Regions from separate parts of the Homo sapiens genome. Here all the other regions are linked to region 4. The links are contacts of gene promoters, found by promoter capture Hi-C in human tissues and cell types (Jung and others, 2019). All regions are on one chromosome and are shown on one strand. Each heading gives the region's core, a stretch centred on a gene start or on the middle of the fragment in contact. The rest is flanking DNA. Distances are from core to core; before and after follow the strand shown.

The links. The method cuts DNA at HindIII sites, captures the fragments that hold promoters and counts their contacts. A contact is called where the count stands out against the background at its distance.
Region 1: a fragment that was not itself captured here is called in contact with the fragment with the promoter of METTL14 in region 4 in 1 of the 25 tissues and cell types used here (hippocampus).
Region 2: a fragment that was not itself captured here is called in contact with the fragment with the promoter of METTL14 in region 4 in 1 of the 25 tissues and cell types used here (mesenchymal stem cells).
Region 3: a fragment that was not itself captured here is called in contact with the fragment with the promoter of METTL14 in region 4 in 3 of the 25 tissues and cell types used here (lymphoblastoid cells, mesenchymal stem cells and thymus).
Region 5: a contact is called between a fragment that was not itself captured here and the fragment with the promoter of METTL14 in region 4, in 1 of the 25 tissues and cell types used here (thymus).
Region 6: a fragment that was not itself captured here is called in contact with the fragment with the promoter of METTL14 in region 4 in 2 of the 25 tissues and cell types used here (IMR-90 fibroblasts and thymus).
Region 7: a fragment that was not itself captured here is called in contact with the fragment with the promoter of METTL14 in region 4 in 2 of the 25 tissues and cell types used here (H1 embryonic stem cells and thymus).

The regions. Positions count from the first base shown.
Region 1 is chr4:118,342,215-118,345,767 of GRCh38, reverse strand. All of the region lies in intron 1 of PRSS12 (serine protease 12), which reads left to right. Among named protein-coding and RNA genes, the nearest start is that of PRSS12, 9.0 kb to the left of the region's middle. The HindIII fragment of the contact is 4,288 bases long and covers 1-3,553 here.
Region 2 is chr4:119,045,671-119,049,489 of GRCh38, reverse strand. The region is part of intron 4 of SYNPO2 (synaptopodin 2); the gene reads right to left. Among named protein-coding and RNA genes, the nearest start is that of SYNPO2-AS1, 63 kb to the right of the region's middle. The HindIII fragment of the contact is 3,412 bases long and covers 1-3,261 here.
Region 3 is chr4:118,979,060-118,982,640 of GRCh38, reverse strand. All of the region lies in intron 1 of SYNPO2 (synaptopodin 2), which reads right to left. The region is part of intron 1 of SYNPO2-AS1 (SYNPO2 antisense RNA 1); the gene reads left to right. Among named protein-coding and RNA genes, the nearest start is that of SYNPO2-AS1, 3.9 kb to the left of the region's middle. The HindIII fragment of the contact is 4,306 bases long and covers 1-3,499 here.
Region 4 is chr4:118,683,269-118,686,738 of GRCh38, reverse strand. METTL14 (methyltransferase 14, N6-adenosine-methyltransferase non-catalytic subunit) reads right to left here and starts at 1,347. Exons shown (of 11, transcript NM_020961.4): 1 at 1,139-1,347. The coding sequence starts at 1,204. METTL14-DT (METTL14 divergent transcript) reads left to right here and starts at 1,398. Exons shown (of 7, transcript NR_125930.1): 1 at 1,398-1,434; 2 at 2,272-2,331. RefSeq lists enhancers at 809-948, 1,129-1,388. The HindIII fragment of the contact is 10,452 bases long and covers 680-3,470 here.
Region 5 is chr4:118,366,873-118,370,270 of GRCh38, reverse strand. No RefSeq gene overlaps it. Among named protein-coding and RNA genes, the nearest start is that of PRSS12, 16 kb to the right of the region's middle. The HindIII fragment of the contact is 8,108 bases long and covers 1-3,398 here.
Region 6 is chr4:119,154,823-119,158,215 of GRCh38, reverse strand. It overlaps MYOZ2 (myozenin 2), which reads right to left. Exons shown (of 6, transcript NM_016599.5): 4 at 65-194. Among named protein-coding and RNA genes, the nearest start is that of MYOZ2, 21 kb to the right of the region's middle. The HindIII fragment of the contact is 7,792 bases long and covers 1-3,393 here.
Region 7 is chr4:118,408,723-118,412,103 of GRCh38, reverse strand. No RefSeq gene overlaps it. Among named protein-coding and RNA genes, the nearest start is that of PRSS12, 57 kb to the right of the region's middle. The HindIII fragment of the contact is 3,133 bases long and covers 226-3,358 here.

The DNA of each region.
Region 1 (3,553 bases), core at 890-3,389, 340 kb after region 4:
GCTGTAAAATGTTACATTCATTTTTTTTTAGTCATATCTGGATGAATAACATTTAGACTCTGGTTTGGTTGACAAAGCATATTTCCTTGTCTTAAGATGCTATTTGCAGGCAAATATTATGACGCATTTATATCTGAAATGAATAATTCCATAATTGATGAGAATGCTGAAGTTAGTTCATTTATTAAGTAAACATGATTATATGATTTAATTCTAATTTTGAAGGTTTTTTCCCCCTGAATTAAATTTTAAAGAAAGCAGTCCTTTGAAGCCTCTCTCCTTAGCTGCATAGTAAATAGGCATTATATGAACAATTGATTTAGACTGATGTTTACATGGTTGGTCTGTTGTCATTAGAAACTAAAGAAGTGTTTATTTTTGCCCCTTTAGCATCTTCCTTTTCCAGGGCAGTCTCCTCTTCCCCTCCTCCTCCTTCTTACAAATCAGTGCAACAATATTAATAAAAAAATTATTGTATGCAAAACACTAAAGCAATGATATTTACCCCCCTACAAGCCACACATGCACATTTAGCCTCAGTACTTTTTATTAGGATCAGCAGAGGGGATACAAAGTGTAATGCTGGTTCTTCTAACAGGGTAAGGATAGGTTTCATTTATTCCTTAAACATTTACTGCATTCACACTAGGTGCAGCATTTATAAAGATGAATCAGAAATTCACCTTTGTCCTCTGGTTGAGGACAGCCATTTTCTGGGTGAGGTGTCAGAAGAATAATAAGCATTTTCATTACCTTCCCTGTGGTGCATGATCTGGGAGACAAGAAGATTATTGTTTGGTTTCAATTTCATCACTCACTGCTATGCAATAAAATGGTAATACCCATACCATTTGTTTATGTGTAGATGGTCTGGGGACACACAATTTGTGAAAGCTTCTGTTGAGGTTATATGCATGTATTGTTAGCCTACTATAGCTTAACCATGGACAGAGTCATCTTTTTTTGTTTGATATCATATAATGTTTTAAACTAAGGAATAATTTATAAGATTTATAAATTTCTAATCAGCACACTGTAAATGGGTAGAATTGCTAACTTAGGGGATGCACTCTCATTTTGAACTATACCAACTGATTTTTTTTCTCAGCATTTAAGTTGTTGTATACATGAATAATAAATGAACAATTAGTATGAATTATAGATGTGAACTAATGGAGGCAAATATAGCTCAGTTGGATCTTGGTTCAGGGGAATGCCTTGTATGTTAAAAATGATTTGATTCATTTTGACCTGGGATGACTTGAATAAAATATACTATTTAGCAAAGATATAGCAGGTTTAATTAACAGGTAAATATAATTATAGATGAAAATAGTATAACTTAGTACTGTAGAATATAGTGAAGAAAGAAAATAACATAAAAATTAACCTAGCATCCCCTACTGTACTTGAAAAATTCAACCAAGAGTCCCCCAATTCAGTTGTTTTCAGGTACTGTAATTTTTTAAATATATTTTATAATTGATAGAGAATGGTCATTTAGTATATTTTTATAGTGTTGCATTTGGTATAAGACATAGTATTATATTTAACTTAATGTCAAATATGTGTACTAAATTGTTCAACATGTAATGGTTTTTTTCTATTCTTTTGAATAGGTCATAAATTGAAATTTCTGTATCACTCACAGCTTTAAGTGTACTTTTTGTCAAGGATCTGAACACTAGCTGGATGTTGCCAGTATGCATTCTTTCTATTCCACTAGAACAATAGAAATGACTAAAACTAATTATTTTATGCATCTGTAAAGTTCAATAATAGACAAGAAAGGATTTGTGTGAAAACGTGAAGTTTTTTTTTACTCTTTTATCAAACTGTGATTTTTTAAAAAAAGATTTTAAAAATATTTATTACTAGTTTTATTCAGAAAACACTATTGGGGTGGGTCTTTGTTTTTACTGCATTTTCTTTCTCTTTAAATTAAGGAATGCTATTTTATAAGTACATTTTAATGAGGGGTTAACTAAATAGGCAGGCATGCATTTTTTCCCCCCACAGGGTCTTTCTTTGTTGCTCAGGCTGGAGTATAGTGGCACAGTCATAGCTCATCGTAACCTTGAATGCTTGGGCTCAAGCGATCATTTGCCTCAGCCTCCCAAGTAGCTGGGATTACAGGCCTGGGCCACCACGCCCAGCTAATTTTAAAATTTTTTGTAGAGGTGGGGTCTTGCTATGTTATCCAGGCTGAACAGGGATATCTTTTCATTTGCTTTATTTTGGAATAAGCTGGGTATATAGAATGAAGATAGTTGACTCATTTGGTTCCTTTTCTCCTATTTCTTTTAGGTTTCCTTCACATATGGAATATGGAAAGGAAGGTTGTTTTGCTTTTGTTTTTGTTTTTTGTTTTTTGAGACAGGGTCTTGCTCTGTCACCTAGACTGGAATGCAGTAGCACAATTATAGCTCACTGCAGTCTTGAACTCCTGGGTACAAGCAATCCTTCCGCCTTAGTAGCCTGAGTAGCTGGGACTACACACGTGGGCCACCAAGCCCGGCTAATTTTTAATTTTTTTTTTTTTGTAAAGACAGTGTCTCACTCTGTTGTCTAGGCCGATCTCTAACCCCAGGGCTCAAACAGTCCTCCTGCCTTGGCCTCCCAAAGTGCTGGGATTACAGGTGTGAGGCACTGTGCCTTGCCTTAGTCTTAAATCTTAAAGCTCAGAAACCAATGAGACTTGTGAAGGGAATTTTTATCCAGTCTGCTGTTCTCTAGTTTACCTGTATTGACTGAGACTGATAAGATGGTTAAAGAGAACTCTTCTTGAATGCCTGTCCCTCTATTTGGGGAATTCCTGTTTTCTAGCGAAGTTGTCCATCAAGCAAATTTCTGTTACATGAACCTTTTATGTTTTCTTTCCTTTATAAAACTGGAGGCCTATGTACTTAGAAGGAAAACAGTTGTAAACTATTTTACTGTAAATGTTTAACAGTTAAACATTTTTATCAAGGAATTAAGATAGTAGAATTCTGAACATTGTTGTACATTGGAACATTTTGCCTTTAAATAGTTATAACACCAGCAGACAGTTGACCTTTTTCTTTTTTGGTAGCCGTTCATTTCAGGAACTCTGGGGCCTCCACTGCATGACATGCCATCACGCATAGTGGTACAATTCCAGACTTTCTTCCTTTACTAGTTTGGTCTGCATGTTTATAATGCTTAATATAATTGACCTAAAACCTCTGCTTGAGACTTTAAATTATTATTCTTAACGCATTTTAAAGATAGAAATATGTAGAATAGAATATTTTCTGTGCACGTGGCACTTGAGAGACTTTAAGACAGTGCAACGCTGGATCACACACACTCCGGTGTGGTCCAGGGACACAAGCTCTGACTAGAGTATCGAAGAATGGTTGGTTGCTCTAGGAGAATGTGGGCGGAAGGTGAGGGATCAATTCTTGATAATAAAAAATTGGACAATTGAACAATATTTGCCAAACAAAGAATTTCGTCTACAATTTATGCAAATCACTTTATTGTTAGGTACAGCAATAGAAATTAGTTCACTTGGTTAGCTTTGGGCTTT
Region 2 (3,819 bases), core at 306-2,805, 360 kb before region 4:
ATACAATTCTCTTGGCTGAAACCCTGCTTACACATGCACTGTAGGGAAAGGGGCGTCAACTGATAAATATGATTTCAATTCCTTTGACTCTTTTCTCTCTTAAACACATGATCAGTAAATGATCATCACAAACATATACTTTATCATACACAGATTCTGGGAGGTCCAAGAAAAGTGAAGAGGAATAAAAAGTATTTCTTTTGCCTTTTTAATCATGGATTAGAATTTCTGAAAAGCAGAGGTCCTAGAAGGGATACACAAATAGAAGAAACCACAGATATTCTCCATTTTTCCATTTGCTCAAGTTGAAATTTTGGGAATCAGTGTTGACTGCTCTCCATCTCACACTCCACACCTGATCTGTCAGCACTGACTTCAAAATACATCCACTATCTGACCAAGTCTTCTCAACCTCCACTGGTAGCATCCTGGACTAAGCTATCACAAATTCTCACCTGGATTATTGCTACTGTCTCCTAATTGATTTCCCTAGTTTCATTCTTGCTTCCTTTAGTTTATTCTTAATATGCTAGCCAAAACTACCCAGTTAAAACTCAAGTCAGATTATGTTATTCAGTCTACTGTTTAAAAACTTCCCATGGCTTTTCATTTCAAAAAAGGAAAAACCAAAGTCCTTTCATTGACCTACAAGACCCCACAAAATCTGCCAACTAGCTCCTTGCATTATCTGACTTCATCTTCTTCATGTTCTCTTCCTCTCCCTTTCCTCCAGCCACACTGGCCTTGAACCTTGAACACACCAGGTACACTCATGCCTCAGGATTTTTGTACTTTCCAATCCTCTGGATTTTTGTACTTGCTCACCCCAGGTACCAGCATGACTCCTACCTTGTTTTCTTCAGGACTTACTCAAATATTACATGATCACTCAGCTTGGCAATTCCCTCCCTCTCTCAAAATTCCTTACCTTTCTCCCCTGCTTTAATCCTTCCCTTAGACTTACACTCATCTAACATAATAAATATTCTACTTAATCATTTGTTTATTTTTCTCTCTCCACTAGAAATTAAGGTCCATCTAAGGGTAAAGGTTTTTGTTTCCTTAAGGCTTCCCTAGAACAGTACTTGGCACCAGAATAGTAGGTGCTTAGTAAATATTTGTTGAATGAATGATAATTTCTACATCAGGCTGTCATAAACTGAAAATGTGGTTATCTTCACCAGAATTTTACGTCAGTTCACAAGATGTAGCCCCTCTCACACATCAGTTACATGTGACAAGGGACACAAACAGAACTATCCCCACCACCTTCAATATATGCAAACCAATATGCACCCCAAGTCATGTTCAACAAGACAGACAGGACTAGTCAATATTTATGAACAAACCAATTTTTCTAAACAGGTGGAAGATTTTTAAGGTTCAAATAAATGATTTGCATTCAGGTCAGTGGAAGTTTAAGAGTTTCAAACGGCTTTGATTTCACAATTGAGAAAAGTCTTAGAAAATTATGCATAAACCCTAAAGAGAACCTGAAATACATTTGCAAGATTAAATAAATCAGACCTAAGAAGAAAACGATAAAAGAGATTGGAATTAGTTAGGGTTGAAGAAGAGCAAGCTGAAAGTTGATTTACCGTTTATCATGAGACTGCAAGTACGTGTTAGGAAATGGCAGCCTCTACTAACTAATCTCCTAGAGTCCCTCCCAGCTCTAATGAGCCCTCAGTGAAAATTTTCTTGACAGTAGAAACAGTTCAACACTGGAAAAAATTTCTGCATAGAGATATAGAATCCCTTTACCTAAAGGTCTTTAAATATAAAACAAACGCTCCCTTGAGGTGGTTTAGATACAATCAAGCTTGAAGTTAGAGGATAAAAACACTTTGAAGGTCATTTTGTTCTAGTCTCAATAAAATAGTCTTTTCCTCATTCCCTAACACTTGCCTTCTTAAAGAGGATTTTAAGTTTACCTCCACTAACTGGAGTTTTTGGAAATTCTGTTTTAGGACTCTCTTATCTAGAAAATGGAAGAGAGTTTCTATTTCTTTCAGCAGAAGTACACAGTATCATTCTGTCTGCCAAGAAGGGCACATAATCAGGACTAATAAACCATATTTTTGAATAGAAAAGTGGCCAAGTAATCACATGTTGTTTAAATAGTTTCATGGGCTGGGCACAGTGGCTTACGCCTGTAATCCCAGCACTTTGGGAAGTCGAGTGGGTGGATCATCTGAGGTAAGGAGTTCATGATCAGCCTGGCCAACATGGTGAAACCCTGTCTCTGCTAAAAATACAAAATTAGTCGGGCATGGTGGCTCATGCCTGTAATCTCAGCTGCTTGGGAAGCTAAAGCAAGAGAATCGCTGGAACCCGGGAGGCAGAGGTTGCAGTGAGCTGAGATTGTGCCATTGCACTCTAGCCTGGGCAACAAGAGTGAAACTTCATCTAAAAAAAAAATAAATAAACAAAATAAATAGTTTCATGAATGCAATGGACATACTCTGACATCAAAATAAGAGATAGGGTCTTGTATGTAGCATATCATCTTGGTTCTGTTACTCACCAGTCATCTTAGATTAACTTTTAGATTAAATTTTCTCTTCCAAAACAACAGACTTTTAAACAAAAAGTTTTACTTTCTGCTTCTAGGAAATCTGTTTGTGAGAAAGCGTAAGGCTTGTAAATGACAATGGAGGCCAGCATCTTATATTGGAAGGAATGGAAACTTGGATGTCACATTGACCTGAAAGTTCTGCCTTTGTCTTTTGTTATCCACGCAATTCAACTTCTCCCAGTCTTATTTTCCTTAATTGTAAGATGGGAGTATTGCTGGCTACAGTTTCAAGATTATGGGCAGAGTAAAGATTGTGTTTATAAATGGAATGCCATGTAGCTCAACAAATGGTGATTATTTTTGTTATTGTGGGAAGAGACTGTGTGGCCCTAAAGGTGTCAGAGACCTGGCAGGACCTTTTGTTCAAGAGGCAACTGCATAGGCAGGCTGCTGACCCAGGACAAAAATAGGAGGGAGACTTGCCTTTGAAGTGGCATTAGCAGTGCACGCCTCCGAGGCTGCTGTGCCAACCCCGGCTGCCCTCCTGTCATCAGAATGCAGGCAGCTGGGTTGGCCAGAAACATTGCCACTGACCTCATCTTCCTGCTAGGTCTAAGTGGGCCAAAATATACACTTCTTGATTTTTTTTAAACCTTCTGTTATAAAAGAATAAAAGTAATGATACACAGTTTAAGGTCGAGAAGACCAACATGAAGGAGGAATGTGTGCATATACTTTTGTTGTCTCTTTCATCTTTGAAGCAATGATAATAATAACTAAAATGTACAAAACTTTTACTATGTACTAGCTACAGTTCTAAACACTGTATTTGTTACCTCAATTAATCCTCTCAACAACCTTATGGCCTCCATTTTGCAAATAAGGAAAGTGAGGCATGTAAATTAGGTAATTTACCCTAATATTACCCTAAATTGGTAATTTTCCCTATACAAGCACATACTGGCTTGTATAGGGAAGTTGGAGAAGTAAAGCTATAGGTAATAAAATTTTATTTAAATAATGTATGTTAAGGCATTAACTCTGTTAACAGAAAAAACTACTATACCAGCAATTTTTACCCTCTTACCTTTCTTTATTCTCAAAAAAGAAGTATGTCACTCTACAAGTTAGAGCCTGTGACAATACTTGTATTAATATAGACTGTGTTCTATTTAAGTAGTTGGGATTGCTGTTTTAATTTTTTATAATTCTTGAGGAACAGCCTTATTTAAGTTTATTTTCATAAAAGTCTAGTTTAATTGGTTCAAACATAAAAAATAAATGTTAAACACATTTCAAAA
Region 3 (3,581 bases), core at 97-2,596, 300 kb before region 4:
AAAAAGATATCTGCAAGTAATTTACTGGGGCAGGATCAGAGATGAGCGGAACCAGTCTGTCTCCCTGTGACTGAGACCACCGCTAGTGATTCTCCAAGTACAGAGGGGCATACCATCCTCCTTCTCTTCTCTTCCCCCTCTTTTATTTTCTCTCATTCATCTGGATTGACCCCCAAAATATGAAGGAAAGGCAAAGGAGCAGCTCCCTGCCAAATTAAAAGAGGTTATAATGGGGACATGTCCATGGTGAAGAACTATGTGCATCCGAGAGGGTTATGAAGACCTGCAAACATACTCATGATTTTGTCCCCAGTCTTCATTGTGCAATATATTTTAGTTTGCCTTTTTTGTTCCTACACTGCACTGGACATTATCTTTTTTTTCAATAGCACTTCATTTCACAGAATAAATCCCTCCCCATATAAATGGTTTACAGCGCGCCTGCCTCAAGCAATTCTGTTATGTAAAAAAAAAACTTTGCAACCACATTTAAAATTAGACATTTATTCCTTCATTCCTAAATGTGAGTTGACTCCCTGGAAGTATGTTCTCATTTTTTGTGGTTTTATTCCCTGAACTACAGTGATGTGCCTGTGACACCCACGCTGCATATTTCCTCCTTAGGTTATGTATTAGTTGGTCAAAACACACTCTCCTAAGGCAATGCCGCCCTCAAGTGGTCTAGTCTGAGAATAGTCAACTATTTTCCTCTGAACGCAAACTGGGTTTCCGTCCAGACCTGTTTGGCTGAAGCATTAACTCCTGAATGGAAAAATAATAATAATTATGTGCAGTTCTGGGGCACAATAATTATGAGGTACATGAGGAAAAAGGAAGCCTTTATTTCCCAAGAAGGCCCCAAAAGACATAGGAGTAAAATGGACGACAGCAACAACCACAAGCTTGTTTTGTTAATTACCAAGTAACTGGCTACCTGCATGTGACCGGGAGGACTAGGGTGGGCTATGAGTTGAACTGGCCCCCTTATGCCTTTGGGGCCAATCCTCAGCTCCTCTAGGGCAACCCCCTAATCAGAACTTATGACATCATGTTCTATAATTAAGGGCATACATTGTATGGAGACAACGCATTCAGGGAAAACATTCAACTCTTCCATGTGGCCAAGACTCTCAGAAGAGAGGTCAGTAATTATGGTAATTACATTAATCACAAGGATTGTTGCACGGAGGAGGGTATTGACATTGACGTGGCTACCCTATGATGAAGCTCTGTGGGGGGTCTGCTCTAATTGGCCACCACCAAAAGTCTCTCATGCCTATGATTAACTTCTCTGGTTGTTTATGTGAGCAGGCTTAGGAATTCTGCTGGGTTGTTCTGTGCAGGGCTTATGAGACAGGTTGGTTGCAGGGCTGTTAGGCTGTTCAACTAGAGAGCCCATCCTGGAACAAATGGGTCAGATAAAAACACACGCTGTGCTGTCCTTCATGGTTTGTTGCATTGTTTGTGGTACTTTGGGTGATTTCAGTTAATCATGAATCTCCTTCAACAAAGATTTTTGCATGGAAAATGCTAGTTCTTCTAAACTGCTCTTGGGCACAGAGATAAACTGGACCAGCGCAATGAGCAGGAAAGAGTGCTTTATCTAGCAGTTATTTGGTGCTGTGGGAAAAGCCCAGAAAAAGGAAACTGTGCTTAGTAACTTGAGATTGAGAATCAGCTCTGCCACAAACTGGGTATGTGACTGTGAGCAAGTCGCTTAACCATTCCAGACTCAGTTTCCACATAGGCAAAGTGTTTCATGTAACTCAGATTAGGGGTTCATAGGCTTATGTGCAGATGGCATGCCACACATGCCACCACCAGGATGAGGCCTAAGAGGCAGCGTCCTCTTTCCCTCCCTTCTTTAACTAAACCAGGTTCACTTTTATCCATTTTATAAATTGGAATCTGAAAACCACTGGATTCTATATATGTGCTTCTTTTCCAGCTACTTTATGCTGTGATAGTTATAGATACTCTGAATGGTGATGCTGACACTTATTAATCAAGTTCTTTTTTTTTCAAATTGTAAGTGAAATCATATATGTCTCTGTTAATTTACAAGTCTAGTTTCTGATAAAATTAGTCCAGTCGGTGGAATGATGGCATGTGTGGGTGTGTGCTGGGGAAGGGGGGAAAAGAAAGAAGTAACAAGGCTCATGGTGACCCCACAGCTCCCAGGAGGATGCAGGCCAAGGAAGGATCTAGGTAGACCTTGCCAAGCAAACAGTAGACAGTTCTAGGAGTGTGGATAGACTCTACCAGAAAAGCCAGCTAGAAAAGGGATGGTTCTGGTCAAGGAATAGTCCGGAGAAGGTCTGAAGGCACATCAGCAGACTAACAAGGCTTTTCACTCTGTGCCTCTAGAAGACATATTGTAAGGTCTGAGTGGGCCCCCAAAAGAAAAATACATTAGAAAGAGTTGAAAATCAAGATTTCCAGAAAACAGATGAAAAGTTTTTACTACACTATACTATATATGGGTATATATGTCATTATTAATAGCAGCCATCATTAAACTAATATGATTTATTTTCATTCAGGAAGCTTTCCCTTTAAGTTAGCTTAAAAACCGCATATACTATGCAATGTATCCAACTTTATTCTTCAAACTCCAAAAGAGTTTTTTCCTCTACAGTGCTTAAAGATAACACAAGTGTGGATGAGTGATGGTTGAGATCCAGTCTCCTTTCTTGAGAATAACACGAGGCACAGACCAAGCAATAGACCAAGGTGCTCAGAATTATGAAATGTCCACTCTTTTTAGTTCAAGTATGCTGAGTGCGGAAGAAACTTCCTGACCTCCTAGTGTTTTTATGTCACCATCTGTAACCTATAATTACAGAGAGATTCTAACTTATTAAAGTAATTGCTCAGACTATAATTCCTGGTTATATGAATTTCTGAGGTACAATTTGTATGGCCTCCTGCAATAGATGCCTCTGTTGCTACCCTGTCATTGTGCTGAAAATATAGTATAGATAATGAAAGGATATCCAACCAGTGAACAAATATTTACTGAGCACATATCATTGGCAAGACATTGTCATAAACAGTACGGAAATACAAAGTTAGGCCAGGGATAGGCCTTGCCCACAAAGTGCATGCAATCTAGTAAAAAGTTGCATGTGTAAACAACTAGAAAATAAGGCAGCCAATAGTAAGTACTTGATAAACAAGATGGTAGTATATGATTCTGACTTAGAGCTGAGGGTGAGATTTTAGGTCATTGGCTCAGGAAAGGGGTTTACAAAGTAAATTACCTTGAGACCCGGCCTTACAGCATACAAAGACTTTTGTAGGTGACAAAATTCTTTCTTTCCACAGGAAGGGAGAAGATGCTAAGCAGTACTGGCAAAACAACGCTACGGCAGTAGGAAAGCATAGCCACTATTCAAGAGATAGCTAAGCAGGAGAGACTGTGGAGGGTAAGGGAAAATAGTAGAAGGCAAGTCTGGACAGGAAGGTCAGAGCCATATTCTAGGGGTGTTTTTGTTTTGTGCTAAGGAGATGAGAGGTGCCATGGAGCTGCAAGCCAGAAAGCAAAATGCACAGAACGATTGGAAAGCGAAAGAGGCCGA
Region 4 (3,470 bases), core at 98-2,597:
TAAAACGTCTTCTGTGGTAGCAACAAAGAGCTACTTAACATTTTTGAAGATAATACGATAAAAGAAGTTGGCGAAAAGAAGACTTAGAAAGGATACTTGATTTGCCCAAGATCGTAATGCCAGCGGGATAAGGAACAAAGGAACAAATCTGACTCCAAGTTTCCACGGTTTTAGCCATATTCCACAAATCTGTTCATCAGACCATAAAGAGGATAGGTTTCAGAAGTCCATTTACTAAAACCAAGTTTCATTACTGAAAAATAACTGCAAGATGACTAATTACACTCTATGAGCATTGCTCCTATCACTTTTACTGATCTGAATAGTAGAATGGAAAATACAGCCTCGATTTTAAGTAGAACTGTGCACAATCTGTATTTTCTGCATGTGCACTCTACTAATCAGCAAATGTTAACTTACTCATACACAAGAAAGAAGTGAAGGACAATGGTTTAGAAGACAAGCTTTGGGGAGACAAACCTAGGTTCTATTTCCCAGCAGAGAAGTGAGCGACCAGGAGTAAAATTCCTTAACGTATGGAGCCTTTTTCATTACTTGATAAGTGAAGGTAATAATACCTGTTTCAGGAGATTATTGTGACTAACACAGAGTAAGATTTCAAATATTAACTGTGGATGTGACAAGGATACTCTATATAAGATGCAGAATCTAAAATTTACACTCAGGCTACTTCCAGTGTTGTCTTCAGAAAGATGTCAAAGAAAATACTGTAAACGTATTTCATAATGAAACCACAATCTCAAGAATTTGGGGCTGACGACGAAGAAAAGAAAGAAATAGATGACCATTTAATAGTGAAGAGAAATGTAGGGGATAACATGACACTCATCCTGGCGTGAACATGCCAGACACTCGGTGGGAGTTCCACAAAGCTTAAAGGCTAATCCTGGCATTCGGTTTAGCACCACAAAGACCGCGGAAGGAACTGGAAAAACATTCGGGACACCGCGAAAATTGAGAACTACAAAGGCAGAACCAGGGATCAAGATCGCAGGACCAGAAAGGCCTTAACAGCGGCAGGTAGAGAAGGGACAGAAAAAGGCGGGGTGTGGAGGGAGGAGGCGGCCGCGCACTCGCATTCTCGATCCCTCCCACAGGGGACACCAGGGCCGCGGACCTGCTGCGCGAGGAGCTGTCGCCGTAACTTCTGCCGCTCCCGGATCTCCTGCAAGCGGCTATCCATGTTCCAACTCCGGCTTTTCACTATCCCGAGTACTTGTCAATCTCCAGTGAACTCTTATCCAACCTTTCTTCCGAGTCTGTGGAACAAAATTCACCGGGAGCTTACGAACAGAGTATCCTCATAGCTTTCCTCAGTAGAGACTTCCGGCGCGGCCGGAATTGGCTCGCTTGGCCCGGAAGTCCCGCCTCCTTCTGGACGCTTGCTATGTGACGCCACTTGGAAGGGACCCAGTAAGGGATCTGTTGCGCCACAGGGGTCTCCAGGGCCCTCGCAGGTTGGGGTGGTCTGAGCTAGTCTGAAGGAGGACAGTCAGCTGACTTCTCCTTTATCTCTCTTTCCCAGGATAGCAGGTTCCCTTGGTGTATTACAGTTTCTGAAGTGTTGATTCCCTTTTCAATTGATTCCACAGATGACAGTCCTGACGTTTAAAAAATTGCCAGATAACCTTTAATTTTTTTTTTTTTAACAGAACACAAACTTAAGCCAGATTGCCTAGGATTGAACCTTGGCCTCTCACTTCCTAGACGAGTGGCCTTGGCTAGTTAACCACCTTCGTGAGCCTCAGTTTTGTCATCTGTAAAATGGGAGTCATAAGTGTCTACCTCACAGAGCTGTGATTGAAAGGATAAATAGCACCTTGCACATAGCGGTGTAGAAGTGCTTGTTATTGTTAATATTTTATTTACCTTCACGCAGGTAACAGCCACAACATCTGCCCACTCTTCCCCACACCTTACTGTCCCTTGAAATGTTTCCCATTTTACTATAGTATGCATTTTTTGGCTTCTTCCCTTTAGGGAAATGAGTATGTGATAGTAAAGCGTGTCTTGGTTTATGTCCTAGGAGTCAGAAGCTAAGAGACTCCTTTTTGTGCTTGTACATTTGTCTTAACTGAAAATAACCCAAGGATAAGGAAACAAATAGCTTCCTGAAATTACTCGGATTGCGGGGGTGAGGGGTGAGGGCTGGGGGGTGGTGATTCTGTCTTCATAGGATGGCAGCAAAGGCCAAAGTCTTATTTGAGTTATTACCATTATTATTCACCACACTTGCCATCTTATTTCAAGCCTACAGTGGCGGAAGTGGAGTAAGACATCATGTTGCCTCAAGTTTAATTGGAAATCGCGGTAAGTACTTAACAAAATTAGTAATAAGTCTGTTCTTTCAGAGTAGATTTAATTTTCAGAAATAATATTAAGTCATCCAGATCAAAACCAGTTGAGTCAGGCTGGGCCAAAAGTGGGCAAGACTAGATTCTACTTAGTCATGCCCACTTTTATAGAAATAATTATAATGTATTTCCGAAGAACTAGGTCTGAAAGACAATTTTGAACAAGTAGTCCTAAACAATTCCTTGAGTAATGTCAGCACTACTTGGATACTGTAAAATATTTATGTCCATATGAGTTAAAGTGTATTTCTTTAAAAATCAGTTGTATTATCTGGCAATCATTTAAGTTGAATACTGATTTAAATTTTACCAATGGTGAGAATAGGCAATTATTCACTTAAATATCTGTTGATATTGATTGAGCATTTTATATGGCAAGCACTGTGATAGGCCCTAGAGTCTATAAAGTCTGTCAAAGATTAAAAACTAAAGTCGGTTTTTCTTTATGAGTTTACTGTCTAATGGAGGATTTTTCTTTTTCCTGATAAGTTGCTATGCAGGTTACTTGCTTGTAATCTTTGAACCCCATACTCACCTACCCTCTGCTTCGAGATGATGGCTAGGCAGGGAGTCCACAAACTACATTTCCCAGCCTTCCTTGTTAGATGGCTTCCTGTAAGACTCTGCCCACAGGAGGCACAGGCAGGAAATCAAAAGGTGGAACATGGGAAAGCTATTGTCCATTTATTTTACTCTCTGCTTCTGGCATCTAGAGCGATGACTATGTCCCTTACAAAGTCTAGAGCCAGTTGGAGCAGCCCCTCCTTTCCTTACCTTAAGAAAGTGACACCCTTAACAGTGAGTGAGTTTGCTCTTGTGCTATGATACTACTACTTCTACCTTCTGTTCCACCAGCTCAAGGACTGGTAGCCATCCTGCAGTTTAAAATTTCTGATTTAATCTTACTTCTCCCTTTTTGCTCTTCTAGCCTTCAATATCTGCTTAACTATTTCTCCATAGTGAATGGCGTCTGTTTAAAATACTTTTAATTATTTGTTTTCCTGCCTGGAACTGTACTGATGCAGATATGTACTTCCATGTAATATTTACAAAACTGTTGGAGTTGGGCAGAGGGTTGTTGCAGTTTGTACAAAG
Region 5 (3,398 bases), core at 94-2,593, 320 kb after region 4:
GTAGTCTAGTACTTTTGAAAATGAGGGCACTTGTTTTAATCTACATTTTGGGCTGGAATCCTCTGGAAGGACATTTATAGGGGAAAAAATGGACCTTGGTTAATAAGATTTAGATAGGTGGAGAACAGAGTAAAGACAATCATTGATTCATTTACTTATTCCTTCAAGAAATATTTATGAAACTGCATCACAGGTAAAGTTCAATGGCCTAAATGCTTTATATTTTTTCTTTTCTTTTTTTTTTTTGGAGACAGTGTTGCGCTCTGTCACCCAGGCTGGAGTGCAGTGGCGTGATCTCAGCTCACTGCAACCTCCGTCTCTTGGATTCAAGCAATTCTTCTGCCTCAGCCTCCTGAGTAGCTGGGACTACAGGCGCACGCCACCACACCCAGCTAAGTTTTTGTATTTTAGTAGAGACGGGATTTCACCATGTTGCCCAGGCTGGTCTCGAACTCTTGAGCTCAAGCAATCCGCGTGCCTTGGCTTCCCAAAGTGCTGAGATTACAGGCGTGAGCCACTGCGCCTGGCCACTTTATATTTTTAATACAGTAAAAGAGTTAAAATGTCAGTGTGGGAAGACAAAAAAATCAGCATATAATTTAGTCCTTAGAAATATTATTTCGTTTGTTTTGTATTTTGAAGGCTCAACAACACTTTAATTTGGTCTAAATTCCTTTGCCTACCAATTTGAACGACAAAGAAAGTTCACTTCCTTCCCAAAGAAGCTGAGATTTTAATTAAATACACATTATTTACTGGACTTCAGGGTCCCAAATAAACACTGGGTGAGTTTTTTTCTAAAGGTTAGCGTGTTCTCAAGGGTTTATAACAAGTTTTCCTGACTAGTTCCATTTCAGTCTGGATTGCAAAACTGCTTCTTGACACATGCTTTGGAAAGGAACAAACATTTAATCCTCTAATAATATTGAATGAACATTGATCTTTTTTTCCTTTTTTCTTTTTTTTTTTGAGACGAAATCTCGCTCCGTTGCCCAGGCTGGAGTGCAGTGACACAAACTCGGCTTACTGCAGCCTCTGCCTCTCTGGTTCAAGCTATTCTCCTGCCTCTTATACAAAAAAAAAAAAAAAGGGGAACAAAAAACATACCGTCTGTTGAGTGCATATGAAGTAACAAACAGCATTTCTTTTTACAGCATCTCTGCAAAACATTACTATGAGGTGACATTGTCATCTACAGATGCAACTCAATCAAAAACAGCAAGTCTGAGGTATAAAATAGCCAAGTAGAATTTGACATAATGTGCATTGATTGCCAATCTATGTGCTATCCACTAGGCAACATAGTATCTCCTTATTTAAATATAACAATAAATATAAAGAAGAATTTAATGTTAAGAAAAAATAAGTAAATCCATCTTTTGAATGATCACCTTTATTGTAATATTCCCTTCTTCTGACAGAAAGTTAATGGTTAGAAACCTGCTAAAGATCAAGGTTATATTTCAAAGAGAGCTTGTGTTGTTGGAGGCCTGGGGAAAGAAGGAAGAATAAAATCATTTGCAGCTAACTATAGCCTGCATGGAAGCCCTAGAAGCATTATCTATCTGTGATTAAGGAAGAGGAATTTTCTTGAATTCTTTTTTTTTATTTTAATTTTATTTTTTTAGGAGACAGGGTTTCATTCTGTTGTCCAGGCTGGAGTACAGTGGCGTGATGATAGCTCACTGCAGCCTTGGCTTCCTGGACTCAAGTAATCCTCCTACCTCAGCCTCCCAACTAGCTAGGACTGCAGAGGTGCACCACCACACCTGGCTAATTTTTAAAAATTTTTTGTAGATGAGAGGTCTCACTATGTTGCCCAGGATGGTCTCCAACAGCTGGCCTCGAGCCATCCTCCCACCCTGTCTTCCCAAGGTGTTGGGATTACAGGTATGAGCCATCGCACCCAGCCTTGAATTCTTTTGGCCTGTTATTATTCAGGAATTCATACAGAAGCCTAGGCTGGGCACCTTAAAAATTTCTGAAACAAACAATCTTTGTTTTTTCTTTCTTAACAGAATAATCACTGAAATGTTAAGAACTCTTTCAGGTAACGTTTATGTTTATTGATCAATATTTTCCCTTGGCAGAAGATTGTTATGCCTGCTCTTAAGCACCAACTACTTGAGGCCAGAGAGCCTAATGTTTACCCAGCTCCTGGGCAGGCTGAGTCTCAATTGTCATTGAACATGTGACTTCATTAAACCACGTCTAACATTTCCCTCTCCTACCTCTTTTCTCAGAAGACAGTCTAGTGGCCCAGTATGTGGCCAAATTGAATTGCAAGCAATAGGGAGAAAAAGCCAAAGTTCTTTTCACTTCCCTTTACTTGAGCTTTAGAGTTCTTATTTTGTACTTATACTTGAACAATAATAATTTTATTAACATTATTAACAGACATTTATCTAAAGTGTATTATATGCCAGGTACCATGCTGTTATTTCATTATTTATTCATCAAATAATGATTACCAGCTGGGTACAGTTGCTCACACCTGTAATCCCAGTGCGTCGAGAGGCCAAGGTGGGAGGATCATTTGAGACCAGGAGTTTGAGACCAGTCTGGGCTACACAGGGAGATGTTGTCTGTACAAAAAAATTAAAATTAAAAAAAGTTACTGCTGAAATATTAGAGTTATCCTTATTTTATAGACAAGTAAACTGAGCTAAAGGAAGTTAAGCAACTTGCCTGATGTCATCCGAGTTAAGTAAGAAGCAGAGTTAAATTTTGAACACAGACTTTTTCTGACTCCTCTTGAAGGCCAGTCCTTAATTGCTACGTTACATAATATAACATAATACATACAAAATTTCTTTGAAATTGTGTGTTAGTGGTCAGTAGTTTTCAAATAGCTATTTTTGTTATTTTCTTTCTTTCTTTCAAGAGATATGGTCTCATTCTGTCACCCAGGCTGGAGTGCAGTGGCACAATAATAGCTCACTGCAGTCTTGAACTCCTGGGTGCAAGCAATCTTTCTGCCTTAGTATCCTGAGTAGTTGGGACTACAGGTGTGGGCCACCAACCCCAGCTAATTAAAAACAGATTTTTTTTTTTTTGTAGAAATGGGGTCTTACTTTGTTGCCCAGAATGGTCTCCAACTCCTGGCCTCAAATGATCCTTCTGCCTCAGCCTCCCAAAGTGCTGAGATTACAGACGTAAGCCACTGTGTCCAACCTACTATTTTCAATAAGAGCAGTTTATGAACTAAATATTTCTCACTTTCTCCTTAAATTAATACTTCTGTGTATATATATATATATATATATATTTTTTTTTTTTTTTTTTTGAAAAGTCAGACCTGACTGGGTATGGTAGCTCACGCCTGTAATCCCAACATTTGGGAGGCCAAGGTGGGTGGATCACTTGAGGTCAGGAGTCCGAGACCAGCCTGGCCAACA
Region 6 (3,393 bases), core at 661-3,160, 470 kb before region 4:
GCCTTGAGTCATATCATTAGGTACACAGAAATTTTATTGCTCTGTTGGTAAGGGGATTGGTTACCTGGAGCAATGTTGTCTGGATTTGGAGGGCTTCGTGGATCTGGGGTGTTGGGAGGAGTCAAGGGGGCTTGCTGCGAACCACCTTCCAAGTTACTTCCATCCACTTTCCCATTCTGCATAGCAATACTGTGCTGTATTTAATCAAAAGTAAACTCTGCTGAAAACTCAAAAATGTAAGCACAATAATAGGAGCTATATATGCAAAACTTCAATTGTATATTTATAATTTAAATGCAATGTCGCTTCATTACTTCCTGGGACCTCAATAATTTTTTTCATAGTAAGATGGTTGCGCACTTGAATGAGAAGATTTACTGATATCAGTCTAAGATCTATTTTATGATGACAGTCCACTTAATAATGATTAGAGCTGAAATTGAGACTTACTGTGTGCCAGGCACTGTGTGTAGTGGTTCATACCAATCATTTCATTTTCTGTTCAGACCATCCCTATGAGATAAATGTATTTAATTTTTGAATCCTTACTAATCTAATAATGTAGAGCATACTGGCTAAGCATTTGGCCTAGTAAATCTTATCTTCCATTGTATTTATATTTGGGCTTTAATTAGATTTTTTAACGTCTAGAAAGTTTAAAAATCTAACCTGAAATTTCAACGGCAATCATATGTACTCCAAAAAAACACAAAAATCATTTATATTTTAAGTTGCATAGACTTGCAAAAGGAAAAATTTTTGATTTTTAGAAAATAAAATGCTGAAAAAATACATTTGTCTTTTAAATTTTGATAAATTTGTTTTCCTATTACAGGATTTATTCTATGGCAATAATATAGCACCTTAAAAATGTTCAGTTTGCATTTTAAGAAAAAAATAGACATCGTAGTAGGTTATGTCCTCAAAAGTATAGCCAAGTTTTATTCTCATAATAAATCATTGTTTTAATTGCATATAGGAAATATGTGTATTTTAAAAAGAAGCGATTAGGTCAAATCATCTTTTAACTTCAAAAATAAAAATTTAGTAAAAAGCATAGCAATTAGACACTGATTTTGACTCTTTTGTGTGTGACATACAGAAAATCTTTCATTTTTTAATTTCTATATTTGTTTGTAAGATTCTGTGATGAAATATACCTTTACATTTTAACACTTATTTAACTTTATAGCAATTTCAGGATAGAATACAATTTTGTTTTAAAATTTAAATACTTACCATAACTAAAGGCCATAAATTAAGATCCTCACTTAATAAAATTATGAAGGAAATAAAGTTTATCTCCATTTTTATGCTTCACCCACACAGCCCCTCCCCAAGGGCTTTTGCATTCATGTTAATCTCTGCAGCATTCCAAAAAAGCCTACTTTCAAAGCAGTAGTCCAAATTTGAGCCTTTGTTCTTTCGTCTGCTTCATCAAAGCCCACATTTGGACAGGGCAGAAAATGACAATGATAAAATAAAATCTTCATGAATAAATTATACTTATAAAATATTGATAGTCTGATGATATACTAACTTCCCAGGAACATATATATATTTTCAACGAATAGCTTTTTAAACAAAAATACTTAATCTCTATTAGAATTTTAAAAGATCTATTTTGGGAAGGAATTCTCTTAGAGCTGTCTCTGCCTGAGGTTAAAACTTATAGCAAAAATATTATGACTTTAAACATTTTTACAACTTTAAACATCGCATGCCTAATTGCAAACTCATCATCATGTTCACACTTTATTGCATACTGAATAAGCCTAAATGTTTTAGCCTTGCACTGAGACCTGCCTACCTAGTCTCATCAGTTTTTAAAGATGTACCCTAAGCTTAAAACCAAACCACTTATAATTCCCCGATTATCTTGTATGCTTTTCTACCTTTGATCATAGATCAAGATTCCCCCATTATCTTGTATGTTTCTCCACCTTTCTACCTTTGATCTTTGATCATAGGAGTTCCCCTAGCAAGAGGACCCCTCTCCGTCATTACCATGGTCGGCTCTGTCGTGATTTAAAAAACACCCCTTCCCTTATTCTTCCTCCCCTTCCAATAAAAAGTTTTTTGTCTTTCTTCTCGCCGCTCCCGTATCATTTACTATAATTCGCCTTTAAAATAATATTTTGTGTCCTGTTTCATTTACTAGCTTGTTAGCTACTTGAGAACAGGGAATTTCATTTTGCCCATATGTCTTTTACAAAGCCTAAGATGGTGTCTTATATAGCACAAGCAGTCAGCGAATATTAGCTGAATTTTTAGTGAATAAATAGCCAAACCCAGCTGATTCTTTTTCACTATGACATTTTTTAAAATGCCATCTTCCTTTTTCACTTTAGTCTTCATGCTCCTGTTATCCTCATTGCTCATACTTTATCATGTCATCATCTATCTTCTGTTCATTTTCCACCAAGCATTTTCCTTCCAGTCAGACCGAATACAAATGCTGGTATGGCATTACTCCAATCTTTAGAAATTGTTCCTAATTGCCTAGTGAATAAAATGCAAACTCTTTTGCTTGGTAATGTAGATGTCATACTCACCTCATAAACATTACCTCTCATTCCTTGCAAACTTCCACAAGCCAGTTCCCCACTACTACCCTCTGCCCTCCTCAGCCCCACAAGCTGTTTCACCTGCTTTGAATGCCCTCTTTTCTGTTCTTTACTAAACCAAATCCTAGGTTTCCTCTAAGACCCATCTTAGAATTTCCGTCTTCTTTCTAACTAACTTAATCTACCGGAAATGTCTCCATATTCTGTATTATCCCAATACTTCAATAAAACCTATGCCACCTTCTCGTGCTCTTTCTTTATTTGTTCCTGTTACCTGGGTTTTGGTATTGCATTTATGTCATTTGGAGTCCCCATCCTATTTATAATCTGGCTGAAGTCTAGTTGGCCACTGATGTGATTTGGATATTTGTCCCCTCTAAATCTCATGCTGAAATTTCATTTCCAGTGTTGGAGTTGGGGCCTAATGGGAGGCGTTTGGTCATGGAGGTGGATTCCTCATGAATGACTTGGTGCCATCCTCGCAGTAATTAGTTCCTATGAGAATTGATTGTTAAAAGGAACTTGGCACCTCCTCCCTCCTCTCTCTTCCTTCCTTCCTCTCTCACCATGTGATGCCAACTCCCCTTTCCCTTCTGCCATGAGTGGAAGTTTCCAGGGGCCCTTACCAGAAGCAGGTGCTGATGCCATGCTTCTTGTACAGCTCACAGAACCATGAGTCAAATAAACCTCTTTTCTTTATAAAGTACCTGGTCTCAGCTATTACTTTATAACAACATGGATGGACTAAGAAAGGCATTGTGTGTGTGTGTGTGTGTGCGTGTGTGTGTGTGTAATATAACATTTTTGCATTTTGAACTCAGCTCCT
Region 7 (3,381 bases), core at 543-3,042, 280 kb after region 4:
AACAATAGTGAACACATATAGTATTTACTTAATTCATATATAAGACATTTTATAAATATTTTATGTATATTAATTCATTTAAATTCCATATAAAAATCAGTAACATTCTTCCGTATCAGCAGTGACCAACTGGAAATTAGTATAAAATGCAATTTCATTCACAACAGCAATAAAAACTACAAAGTATATAGGATATAAACTAATGAATGAACCCATCCTTTAAAACAGAGTTTTTCAAGCTCTATTAAAGGACATAAAACAAGATCTAGGTAAAAAGGAAAAAGTACCACATTCATGAGTGGGACAAATGAATACTGTAAAAATATCATTCTCCCTAAATCTATAAATTCAATGCAATTTTAATGAAAATTTCATGAGGATTTTGTGAAGAACTAGGCAATTAATTAGCTTATAAAATGTGCATAGAATAATAATAGACCACAAATAAATAAGATGAATTTTTTAAAAAGAAGAGCAAAGAGAGGGAACTTGTCTAGTTGAATATATTAAGACATATAAAACCATAGCAATAAAAATAGTATGATACCAGTATAGGAATGGACAAAAAAAATGATATAACAGAATAGGAAACCAGTAAACAAGCCTATGTTATATATGAGAATGAGGAATATAGTAGAAATTAGCATCATAACTCATAGAGGAAAGACACATTATTTAGTATGTGGCTCAACACATAGGAAAAAAATAAACCTAACTATGAAAGGCAACACTATGAAGTGAGTGAAATACATGAAGCTTTCTTTGTGAACTTGGGATGGGAAAGGATTTTTAAACAAGACCCAAAAAGTACAAACCTTAAGGGTGTGTGGTGGAAATTGATGGATGTGATCATGTTAAAACTGAATATTTCTATACAAAGAAGATATGATAGACAAACTTAACAGGCTGGTTGCAGACACATTAGCAGGAGATATTTTTAAAGTGTAACACTAAAAAGTGATTAACATTTAGACCATATAAGGAACTACTAAAATCTACAAGGAAACTCAAAAATTGAACAAGGACTAAAATAGACAATTCATGGGAAGGGAATTCTAAATAGCCAAAATGTATATGAAGAGATGTTCAACTTCACTTGTAATCAGAGAAATTCAAATTAAGTCAACAAAGAATCGCTAAAAATTACAAAGTCAGCTAATACTAAGTGCTGGCTAGGATGTCAAGAAATCAGAAAACTCATGCACTATTGATGGGAGTGTAACTCACAATACCTAGTGAAATTAATTATTCATATAATTTGTATACTTATCATTCCCTCACCTGGGTTTATATTGTGTACAAATCCTTAAGGGGATATTTTGGAGTGTGGTATCCTATCATTATTAGTGTTAGCAAGAAGTTAGAGGCAGCTTCATGTCCATCCCTAGGGAAATGGCTACTCAGAATACATAGCATGTACACACAATGGGATAAAATACAGGAAGAAGTAGTTAACCATTTTTATATGTAGGAATGTAGATGGATCTTGGAAATATGGAATTAATTCTATAGAACAAAACAATTTTTATATATTCAAAATACACATATACACAGAAAACAACCATATGTTGTATCTCAGGGCTGTATTTTCAGATGCCTAAGGAAACATATTGGATATATTAATGTGTATATCTCTGATGGGAAAGATGATGTATATGAGAATGAATAGGACAAAGGGGAAAGAATAATGAAATAAAACAGGGGCATTGTATGGACTCATAATGACGATGGAATCTGAAATCTGTGTATTTGAGAGCGGTATGACTCACAGATAATGCATGTGTGTCCTAATTTGGGGAGGAATATTTAAGTAATGTTCTCAACAAAAGGAAGCACTGGTTTTAAAACAGATTCTGGGAGGATTTGAATGGCCTTATGTAGAAGACAGATGGATACGTGATTAATACAAATTCTTGCTTTAGGTATTTTCCTCCCTCAGAAGTGTTGGAAATTAATCTGAAATTAATTTGCCTCCAGCAATCAGTCTAGGAGAGGAGTAGAAATTTAAAACCATGGTTATTTAATATTCAAAGAGAATGGCTCTGTAAATCTGGAAAACACAAATAACCTGACAAAAGCTTGTTTTTTATTTAGTTTCATGTAATCTGTCAGGCAGTAGTTTAAAAAGTATCAGGTTTTTTTCTTCTGGTATTATTTCATTGCATGTACTCACTGACAAAACCTTTTATTTATCAGTAAAATGTTCCCTATTATTCATTGTTATGCAAGCAATATACCACAAATCACTGCATAGCTATTTTTAAAATTTTATTATTATTATACTTTAAGTTTTAGGGTACATGCGCACAACGTGCAGGTTTATTACATATGTATACATGTGCCATGTTGGCGTGCTGCACCCATTAACTCGTCATTTAGCATTAGGTATATCTCCTAATGCTATCCCTCCCCCCTCCCCCCACCCCACGACAGTCCCCAGTGTGTGATGTTCCCCTTCCTGTGTCCATGTGTTCTCATTGTTCAATTCCCACCCATGAGTGAGAACATGTGGTGTTTGGTTTTTTCTCCTTGCCATAGTGTGCTGAGAATGATAGTTTCCAGCTTCATCCATGTCCCGACAAAGGACATGAACTCATCATTTTTTATGGCTGCATAGTATTCCATGGTGTATATGTGCAACATTTTCTTAATCCAGTCTATCATTGTTGGACACTTGGGTTGGTTCCAAGACTTTGCTATTGTGAATAGTGCCGCGATAAACTCATGTGTGCATGTGTCTTTATAGCAGCATGATTTGTAATCCTTTGGGTATATACCCAGTAATGGGATAGCTGGGTCAAATGGTATTTCTAGTTCTAGATCCCTGAGAAATCGCCACACCGACTTCCACAATGGTTGAACTAGTTTACAGTCCTACCAACAGTGTAAAAGTGTTCCTATTTCTCCACATCCTCTCCAGCACCTGTTGTTTCCTGACTTTTTAATGATTGCCATTCTAACTGGTGTGAGATGGTATCTCACTGTGGTTTTGATTTGCATTTCTCTGATGGCCAGTGATGATGAGCATTCTTTCATGTCTTTTTTGGCTGCATAAATGTCTTCTTTTGAGAAGTGTCTGTTCATGTCCTTTGCCCACTTTTTGATGGGGTTGTTTGTTTTTTTCTTGTAAATTGGTTTGAGTTCATTGTAGATTCTGGATATTAGCCCTTTGTCAGATGAGTAGGTTGCAAAAATTTTCTCCCATTCTATAGGTTGCCTGTTCATTCTGATGGTGGTTTCTTTTGCTGTGCAGAAACTCTTGAGTTTAATTAGATCCCATTTGTCAATTTTGGCTTTTGTTGCCATTGCTTTTGGTGTTTTAGACATGAAGTGCTTGCCCATGCCTGTGTCCTGAATGGTATTGCCTAGGTTTTCTTCTAG